Regions from separate parts of the Homo sapiens genome. Here regions 2 and 3 are each linked to region 1. Evidence: promoter capture Hi-C in human tissues and cell types (Jung and others, 2019). All regions are on one chromosome and are shown on one strand. The core of a region is centred on a gene start or on the middle of the fragment in contact, and the rest is flanking DNA. Distances in the headings are between cores, read along the strand shown. Region 1 holds the start of ZC3H4 (zinc finger CCCH-type containing 4). Region 2 overlaps ARHGAP35 (Rho GTPase activating protein 35). Region 3 overlaps ARHGAP35 (Rho GTPase activating protein 35).

Region 1 (3,115 bases), core at 271-2,770:
GGCTAATTTTTTGTCTTTTTAGTAGAGACGGGGTTTCGTCACGTTGGCCAGGCTGATCTCAAACTCCTGACCTCAAGTGATCCGCCAGCCTCGGCCTCCCAAAGTGTTGGGATTATGGGTGTGTGCCACCACGCCCCGCTGCCAGCTGGAACATTTAAAAAACAGTAGGATCCGCTGGGCGCGGTGGCTGACGCCCGTAATCCCAGCACTTTGAGAGGCCGAGGCGGGCGGATCACGAGGTCAGGAGATCAAGACCATCCTGGCTAACGCGGTGAAACGCCGTCTCTACTAAAAATACAAAAAATCAGCTGGGCGTGGTGGCGGGCGCCTGTAGTCCCAGCTACTTGGGAGGCTGAGGCAGGAGAATGGCGTGAACCCGGGAGGCGGAGCTTGCAGTGAGCCGAGATCCGCGCCACTGCACTCCAGCCTGGGCGACAGAGCGAGACTCTGCCTCAAAAAAAAAAAAAAAAAAGTAGGATCAATATACCAGGAAGTCACATGGTGCCTCTGTCTCCAGATTTATCACTGTTGACACGGTTTTTCTCTCTTCCTGGAATCTAAGTGGTCTTTGCTTTGTCAGGGCCTGAAATAAGGTATTTCTTTTCTTTTTTTTTTGAGACAAGAGTCTCACTCTGTTGCCCAGGCTGGAGTGCAGTGGCATAATCTCGGCTCACTGCAGCCTCGCGACCTCCCGGGATCGGGCGATTCTCCCTCTTCAACATCCCGAGCAGCTGGGACTACAGGTGTGAGCCATCATGTCCTGCTAATTTTTGTATTTTTAGTAGAGAAGGGGTTTTACCATGTTCGTCAGGCTGGTCTCCAACCCGAGCTCAAGCGATCCGCCCGCCCCGGCATCCCAAAGTGCTAGGATTACAGGCGTGAGCAACATCGCCCCGCCTGAAATAAGGTATTTCTTCTGCCTGGAACCATCTCTTCTTTTTCATGTACCAGCCTAAAAGAACAATTACAAGACCCTCCTCTAACACTCCACCCACCCCCTTTATTCTTTAACTCTGTTTCTCTCCCTTGGGGCATTATCGGTTAAGTTCCATGAAGACAGAAACTGTTCCCATGCTCCATCACAGGGACTGGCACTGTAGAAAGAGCTAACAAGTATTTAAGGAAGATCCCTGGATTCGAGGTTACAGTGAGGTATGATCGTGTCACAGCACTGCAGTCTGGGCGACAGAGCAAGACTCTGTCTCTTAAAAAAAAAATCTTGCTGTGCTTTTTAGAACTAATCCTATGACCGTGAACCGATTACTTAAAACACCGAACTTCAGTCTGCAAATGGGAATAGCAGCAGCTTATGTTAGGACGGTTATGAGGGTCAAAAGATTTTGTTTGTACAGTCTACGACACCGGCCAGTGTTTCTAGCTCTGCTATTTGAGAGCCTTCCATGGGTCCTACACCCCAGGTCCTTAAACTCCCCTGAGGGACTACCAAGCCCCGCCCCTCTCGCATCCAATGATGACATCATCGACTGGGTTGTCGAGTGACGTCACCTCCGGGCTGGCTGGGCTTCATCGCTTCTCCGGAAACCTCCGACTCTCGGCACCTGGCCTCCAGCTTTCGGTTATTTTTTTTTTCCCTCTCCGTAGCCTGAATTCCTTCCCTCCCATTCTCCCACCTAAAACTATTGGCTCTTCCCGCCTTCCTTCAAACTAGCAATTTTCGGTTTTTCCCTCTTGCTCTCCGGCGAATTCCTGAAAGTCGTTTATTCTCCCCTTCAGCCCCGCCCGTTCAGCTCATTCTCTTAATCGCATTACCCTGGCTGCTTTTCTTTCGGCTGTTTCCACCTCCTGCCACCCACCCGGACACCGCTTTCGGCTCTTTCCGGACCGTCTCAGTTTCTCCTCCTTCCCCGGTCCCGATCGGCTTAGGCTATTTATGGCTCCCCTAGGTTTCTCATGCTCTCTCTAGCCCCACCCATATCACCACCTTCAGCTCTTTCTGGCTCTCCCCCGTCGCCTCCTCGCTCCTGCTCAGCTCCTTTCGGCTATTTCCGCCTCCCCTCGGCCTCGCCCTTTGCCTTCGGCTCTTTCCGCCGGCCTTCGGGCAAGCGGTCTCTACCCCTCTCCTGCACGTGACACGGCCTCCGCCTCCGCCTCTCAGTTCCCCCTCCCATCTCACCCTTCCTCCCGCCTCAGCCTCTAGGCTGGTTCGGGCCGAGCCGCCATTTTGTGTCAATTCCTGATTGCGGCGGGGGCCGGGCAGCCGGGGCACCCAGGGCGGGCAGAGAAGGGAGACAGTCGGCCCGTCTCCGCGGCCCGTTCCCTCTCTCCCTCAAATCCTTTTTTTCTTTTTAACCCCCCACCCCCCTCGCTCGCTCTCCTCTTCTCCCCTTACCCTTCGCTTGCTCCATCGCGCGCGGCCCGCGCTAATTACACCCAACCACCCACCAGTGTCCGTGTCTCCCGGGTGTCCCGCCCCCCGGGGGTGCGTGGGGGGGGGGCTCTCGCCCCTATGAGGGCCCCGCGCCAGTGAGCGAGTGACCGCAAGGGTGGGCTGCGGAGAAAGCAGGCGGCGAGCGGCCCTCCGAGGCCTAGGCCGTGCGGCCTACGCGGAGGTCAGCGCAGAGGTGATTCCGAAACCGAAAAAATATATACCCCATTCCCATCAGGAGCCCTCCGAGCTTAAGTGTGCCCCTCCCGCCACGCCCAAGCAGTCCTTTTTCGTGCATTAACATCCCCTCCCCCCCAAAGGAACTATGGAGGCCGCGCCCGGGACCCCCCCGCCGCCGCCATCAGAGTCGCCGCCGCCGCCATCGCCGCCGCCGCCATCAACGCCTTCGCCTCCTCCGTGTTCCCCCGACGCCCGCCCGGCCACCCCGCACCTCCTCCACCACCGCCTCCCGCTCCCTGACGACAGGTCAGGCCCCCGGTTGGGCCGGGGCTGCGTCCCCGGGGGGAGGAAGAGGAGGAGGAGGAAGGGGGGCGGCCGCCATGTTGGGCCGGGCCGCGGAGGAGGAGGAGGAGGAGGAGGAGGAGGAAGGGCGGGGTCGGTGGGTGTCTCTCGATCGCTTGCTCGCTCGCTCTTTCTCGCTTGCTTTCTCTCCCGGCCTCATGCGTTTCCCCCCCCTCGCGGCGCTCGCCCGCTCTCCCTCGCTCTCGC
Region 2 (3,006 bases), core at 306-2,805, 190 kb after region 1:
CCATTTTCCAAGGCAGGAAAAGAAAATTTCACCTTCTAGTCACTCTTTCCAGAGGATACTCCATAACTGACTTCTGGCACGCTATTGCTCTTGGGCCAGAAGTATCATTTTTATTTGACTTGAAGAGGTGTGGCCCACATAGCTAAAGATAGACCGGAAGCCGACCACTTCTTGCACGCTGACCCAGCAACCCGGGGAAGGAAGTCTCAGGTTAGGAAGTGCTCATTACCAGCATGAACACAGCTATCTTAGAGGCACACTGTGATCAGCTGTTTTCTGCTGAGCCTCCACTACAGTGTGTGCTCTTTAAAGCCTGGCTTGCATGGGAATGTGTTTTTAAAGCATCATTTTCAGTAAGTATTAAAAATGTAGCTAGAAGTCAGAATATAGTTATAATTCAGTATGCTATTATGCCACCTTCCTAATTTCCAGGTGTGCAAACACCCCCACAAATTAGAAGACTGTCAGCATTTTTAAGCTGTTCTGGCAACAGTCTTCATTGGGAGAGGAGGAGGAAGAGAAGAAATGTTCAAAATGTTTGGATTCCAGTATCATTAAATAGGTGAGCTCTGGGAAAATACCGGAGGCAAGTCAGGCCGTTTTCTGGCTTCCTAAATAAGCAATGCTTTCCACAGGGTGGCCTCCTACCAACCTTTGGAGGAGAAAACACTGGAGGCAGACAAAGGACTCCATGTAGAAAAGCCAGGCAAAGGAAAATCAGACAGGAGGATGCCTATGGCATTTATTAATAGTCAGCACAGGTGGGGAGGGATACAGAACCACTCTGCCCTTTCTCACACTGCACAGATGAGAAAACTCTGGAAGCTCCTGGTCAGCGGTAATGCAGGAACACTCTCTACTATGGGATGTAGCACAAAGTGGATGCAATTTCTGTGGGAGGGTGATGGCACCCTGTTCCTCCATCTCTCGGGGCCCGCAGGGCTGCCAAACTGGCCTCTGTATTACATTTTACAACAGAGTTGTCAGGATTGTCAGCTCTCAAGACAGCCTGGATTCTAGAACCTTCTGATTTGGTAGGATTTGTAATAATAAAAGTTTCTGGCAATCTTTCTTTCCAGAGGTCCCTGCAGTACTTTCAGACAAGTAACTCTGTTCTCTGTTCTTTCATGGGAGGGAGAGTAGCAAAAGCTTTAACGTGAAAAAATCCTTCTATATATCATAATCTGCTGGTGAAGGATTATTATATAACACAGTTCTGTTGTGGCATGTCACCAAAATGTCTTTTTCTGAAAAAATAAAGAGTATTTATATATATACACATTTTTTTTCCTTTTTCCTTTTTTTTTTTTGAGACAGAGTCTCCCTCTGTTGCCCAAGCTGGAATACAGTGTCGTGAACTTGGCTCACTGCAACCTCTGCCTCCCAGGTTCACGTGATTCTCCTGCCTCAGCCTCCTGAGTAGCTGGGACTATAGGCGCCTGCCACCACGCCCAGCTAATTTTTGTACTTTTTTAGTAGAGATAGGGTTTCACCATGTTGGCCAGGCTGGTCTCAAACTCCTGACCTCAAGAGATCCACCCGCCTCGGCCTCCAAAAGTGCTGGGATTACAGGCGTGAGCCACGGCGCCTGGCCTGTAAAGAGTATTTCAGTATTTCTAAATCAGCCTTGGCAATTGGGGGTGGGGGGGAAGAGTATTTCTCCCTACTCCAAATGGAAAAAAAAAAGAAAAAGAAAAAGTTGAGAAACGCTTTTTCTTTCTCAAAGCCTAAACCCAAGGGGACAGAGTACTGCTTACAGCTCTCTGCCCTGCAGACTACAAACTACAATTCTACGCAGGATAAGAGACTTCATCTGCAGCCGGGCGCGGTGGCTCACGCCTATAGTCCCAAAACTTTGGGAGACCAAGGCGGGCGGATCACGATGTCAGGAGATGGAGACCATCCTGGCTAACACGGTGAAACCCCGTCTCTACTAAAAAATAAAATAAAATAAAAAAATTAGCTGGGCACGGTGGCGGGCGCCTGTAGTCCCAGCTACTCAGCAGGCTGAGGCAGGAGAATGGCGTGAACCCAGGAGGCGGAGCTTGCAGTGAGCGGAGATCGCGCCACTGCACTCTAGCGTGGGTGACTGAGCGAGACTCCGTCTCAAAAAAAAAAAAAAAAAAAAGAGACTTCATTTGCTCCTGTCTCTACATATGACGAGTAGGCCCAATGTTTATAATGTATACAGTTAACTTTTTCTTTTCTCTCCCTGCACCATTTGTGATCCCTAAATAAAATCCGAGTTTCTGACTGATAGCAGCAGCAACTCCCTTGAAGATAAAATAATAGACTGGATGGTATTCCAATTTAACAAATACGGGACAGGTTTATAACTCTCAGTGGCAAGATTCTCTTTTTTCATTTATGTACTCAAAGACTCGTCACTGATTTGTGTGTGCAAATCATCATCCAATCCTTCACCAATCTCAAATGCAGCAACCTTTACAGATCAGCAAGGGAGGAAGGATCATTTAAGAGATGTATGGATGAAATGTTATGTTTAGCAGTGAGAGACTGCGGCAAGCAGTTTTGAGTTCTGGTGTTTCAGTGAAGGGAGAGCAAGTGTATTGTCACTGCGCTTGGCCACTTGTCAAGACACTGACAAGTTCTGCATTATCTCCTCATTTTGCTAATTAATTAACTATTGTTTTAGGCAACAACAACTCAGACTATCTATCCAAAGTCCTAACTACTTGAGAGCTGCCAATAATGGTAGCTAATTGAGGCACTGCTTTTTTATGTTAAGTCAAATACACACACAGGGCAGTTTTTTTTTTACCAGAATAGGTTGTCCTTGAAAAATCATCATCAATCAACCCTCACCGAGACGCTGTACAAAACACTATGACTAATCCTAGACTGGTGTCTTACCTTAGTGTTCCTCCTTAGGCTGCGAAGAATATTCCTCCTCCGCGGGTCTTCGTCTGTTTCGTATGGAATGACAGCATTGTCCCCTTTATAACCCTGGGATGCCTGATCCTCCTCTTTCTTCCGGATGGGCCC
Region 3 (3,344 bases), core at 652-3,151, 230 kb after region 1:
AGAACTTCTAGAGGCCCTTAGAGAGAAGCCCTACTTATGAACACACTCCCTTGGTGAAGTCACAGCCCTTGGAAGCTCTTGCTAGTCACAGCTTCTATTTCAATTTCTTACTCTGGAATAATTTTAGATATACAAAAAAGCTGCAGATGTTACAGAGTCCTCACATACCCTTCACCCAGCTTCCCCTAATGTTCACATAACCATGGTGTATTTGTCAAAACTAAGAAATTAGCACAAAAAACTAAACTACAGACTTTCAGATTTTACCAGTTTTTCTATTTATTGCCTTTTCTGTACCAGGATCCAATCCAAGATCCCACATTCCAGTTAATTCAAAGGCTTTTAAAAATTCCTTTCTTTACTTTGGAGCACCACGGTTTTATCATTTTCATCAGTTTCCATATATGCTCCCCCACCCCCCATCTTCACCAACCCACTGAGAAGGTAAATATATCCTTTCAGTAACGAGTAGAAGGTACCAAAACTGATGATGTGGAGTACAAACAACTGTTAGGGAGTCAAGAAAATTTAACAAACATGAGACGGATGTACACATGCATACATACACCCACACCAGTTACAAAATGAACCTGGCCTAAGATGCTGCTTCCACTATCAAAGAGAAAAGAAACTCAAAATTCAAGCAGACATGTTTCTGCTTTTTCAGTTTTGCTAGTAGTAAATCCTTTTTAATCTCTCTCTCTTTAAAGATCCCAACCAACCCAAGAAGTCAAGACAAAATCACCTGAACACTCAATCCATCCTTAAAATTCTAGCAAAATCATCTGGGATTTGGGAAGGGAGAAAACAGTGATTCATCCTCTTTCCCACATTTTCACTAAGGATTCTTAAGCATTAGGATAGAAATTCAATCATATCGCAACAATCATTATAAAGACACTTTTACCAGTATTAGTCATACTTCTTTCTGTTACATTTATAACCTGCATTCTAAGCCTCCTCCATCTCCTAAAACTCCCAAATCTACAACAACCTTGAGTAACGCCCGATCCCTAGAATCAAGGGTGAATCACTGTAATGATAATAAAAACTGGCAATTTATCCTACAGTTAAAAAATACAACTATTAACAACGGTTTTCCCTGGGAGGAAGACTTTAAGGAATACTTTAACTTTCCTTGTATTTCAGCTAGTGAAAGCATTTAACAAATACATAAAGAGCACAGCCCTATGTCAGAATTAGAAGTAGGAAAAAAAGAAAAGAAAAAAAAAACCTCCCTTACGGAGCATAGTCTAGATCTGCACTACTTTGGCCATTTAAAGTTAAACTAATAATAATAAAAATTTTAAATTTAGTTTCTCAGCCCCACTAGCTACATTTCAAGTAGCAACACGTGACTGGTGGTTACCATAATGAATAACACAGAAAGTTATATTAGACAAGGCTGATGTAAAAGAAGACCTGATGCTAATTCAACCTTGGAAACAGAGAGGAGGCATTTGAAATGAGCAGCATTAAGGCAAGCACTCCAGGACGGACGACGACAACATAAACCACTGGCCTCCCTGCAGCATCATGCAGTACCCAATCTCCAAGGCTCTTCCCCGAAGTCAAAAGCAAAATACTTCAAGGAGGCATTAGAGAAATGAAATGGGTGACAGGCTTTGATTGTACTTTAAGATAAGCTTAATACCCTAAAATTTAAAAATCACATTATAAAAATCTATTTATAGCTGGGTGCAGTGGCACACACTTGTAGCCCCAGCTACTCAGGAGCCTGAGGCGGGAGGATTGCTTGAGCCTGGGAATTCGAGTCCAGCCTGGGCAACATAGTGAGAACTCATCTCTAAAAAGGTAAAAATTAAAAAAATTAAGATTAAAAAAATCCAATTAGGACCTCACTAAAAATAAAAAGGTGGAGGGGAAAATGGAACTGGAATTAACTGCTAGATCATTCTGGAAATCTTTAACAAGTAAGCTAAACTAGAGATCAAGAAGACAAACCAAAGAATGTACTATGCCCATCCAAATACCTTCCCGTGAGAGAAACATTTCCCAATGATCAAGGTTAGTATATGAAATCACCGGCATTAACCCCACATTAATAAAAACAAGTAGGGCCAGAGAGAGAGGAGGGAGGTGGGCAGAAGAGAGAGCACACAAACCCAGACCAGTACTTTCTAAGTGGGGGTAATTTATTATTCTCCTTCCTCTGAATCCTTAGCTTACATCACCTAGCATGCATGGCCTGTTTCCTATTCTGAGTAATGGGTACAAGGATAGTACCTACTTCATTGGGTTGTTATGTGGATTCCTTGAGTTAATACATGTAAAGTACATAATACAGTGCCTGGCATATAGAAAAGATTAAGGAAATATTTGCTATTATTATTGCAAGAGTCACAAACTATCTCTGAGGATCTGGTCTCACTTGTCCAAAAGTAAAATGATTTCCCTAAGGGTGAGTTCACAGGGGAATGAGATGTTGTGTTGACTATAAGAAGGGGCGCTTTTCAAAAGTCCAATCCATCCTAAGCTGAAACACCTTCCAATTATGTCCTATGGATTATTATTCATAATGCCCAAAGCCATGGGGACAGCTGAAAGAACTTCCGCAAGCTTTAGGATTTAGATATAGACCCCTGGGCCAGGCACAGTGGCTCAAGCCTATAATCCCAACACGTTGGGAGGTCAAGGCAGGAAGATCACTTGAGGCCAGGGGTTTGAGACCAGCCTGGGCAACATAGCAAGATCTCATGTCTACTAAAAATTTTAAAAAGTAGCCAGGCATGGTGGGTGCGCACCTGTAGTCTCAGCTGAGGCAGGAGGATCATTTGAGCCCAGAAAGTCGAGGCTGTAGCAAGCCATGATCATGCCACTGCACTCTAGCCCTTAAACCTGTAATCTTAGTACTTTGGGAGGCCTACGCGGGGGAATTGCTTGAGCCCAGGAGTTCAAGACCAGCTGGGGCAACATGGCAAAACTCCATCTCTACAAAAAAAATACAACATGGTGGCACATGCCTGTAGTCCTAGCTATTAGGGACACTGAGATGGATCATCTGAGCCCAGGAAGTCGAGGCTGCAGTGAGCTGTGAGCATGCCACTGCGCTCCAGTCTGGACAAGAGACCCTATCTCAAAAGGGGAAAAAAAAAAAAAAAAAAAAAAAGGATATCATCATTATTTTATAGATGAGAAAACTAAGGCCCCAAAAAGTTAAACAGCTGGCCTGTGGCAGTTTTCCTCAGTTTATGTTTAAAATGAGAATTATAAGTATATACCTACATATGTCCCTATAAGGCAGCTAGTTTCCTTGGGAAGGGATATCCTTTATTCTGAAGTTAGATCCTTTTTGTTGTTGTTGTTTTTGTTGCCCAGGCTGG

What was found. The method cuts DNA at HindIII sites, captures the fragments that hold promoters and counts their contacts. A contact is called where the count stands out against the background at its distance.
Region 2: a fragment that was not itself captured here is called in contact with the fragment with the promoter of ZC3H4 in region 1 in 1 of the 25 tissues and cell types used here (hippocampus).
Region 3: a contact is called between a fragment that was not itself captured here and the fragment with the promoter of ZC3H4 in region 1, in 1 of the 25 tissues and cell types used here (dorsolateral prefrontal cortex).

What each region holds. Positions count from the first base shown.
Region 1 is chr19:47,112,181-47,115,295 of GRCh38, reverse strand. ZC3H4 (zinc finger CCCH-type containing 4) reads left to right here and starts at 1,520. Exons shown (of 15, transcript NM_015168.2): 1 at 1,520-1,576; 2 at 2,707-2,872. The coding sequence starts at 2,712. RefSeq lists enhancers at 1,378-1,607, 1,848-2,007, 1,887-2,614, 2,615-3,115 and silencers at 2,418-2,507, 2,758-3,115. The HindIII fragment of the contact is 19,933 bases long and covers 1-3,115 here.
Region 2 is chr19:46,922,225-46,925,230 of GRCh38, reverse strand. It overlaps ARHGAP35 (Rho GTPase activating protein 35), which reads right to left. Exons shown (of 7, transcript NM_004491.5): 2 at 2,875-3,006. Among named protein-coding and RNA genes, the nearest start is that of ARHGAP35, 63 kb to the right of the region's middle. The HindIII fragment of the contact is 4,223 bases long and covers 1-3,006 here.
Region 3 is chr19:46,884,280-46,887,623 of GRCh38, reverse strand. The region is part of intron 1 of ARHGAP35 (Rho GTPase activating protein 35); the gene reads right to left. Among named protein-coding and RNA genes, the nearest start is that of ARHGAP35, 25 kb to the right of the region's middle. The HindIII fragment of the contact is 4,791 bases long and covers 1-3,344 here.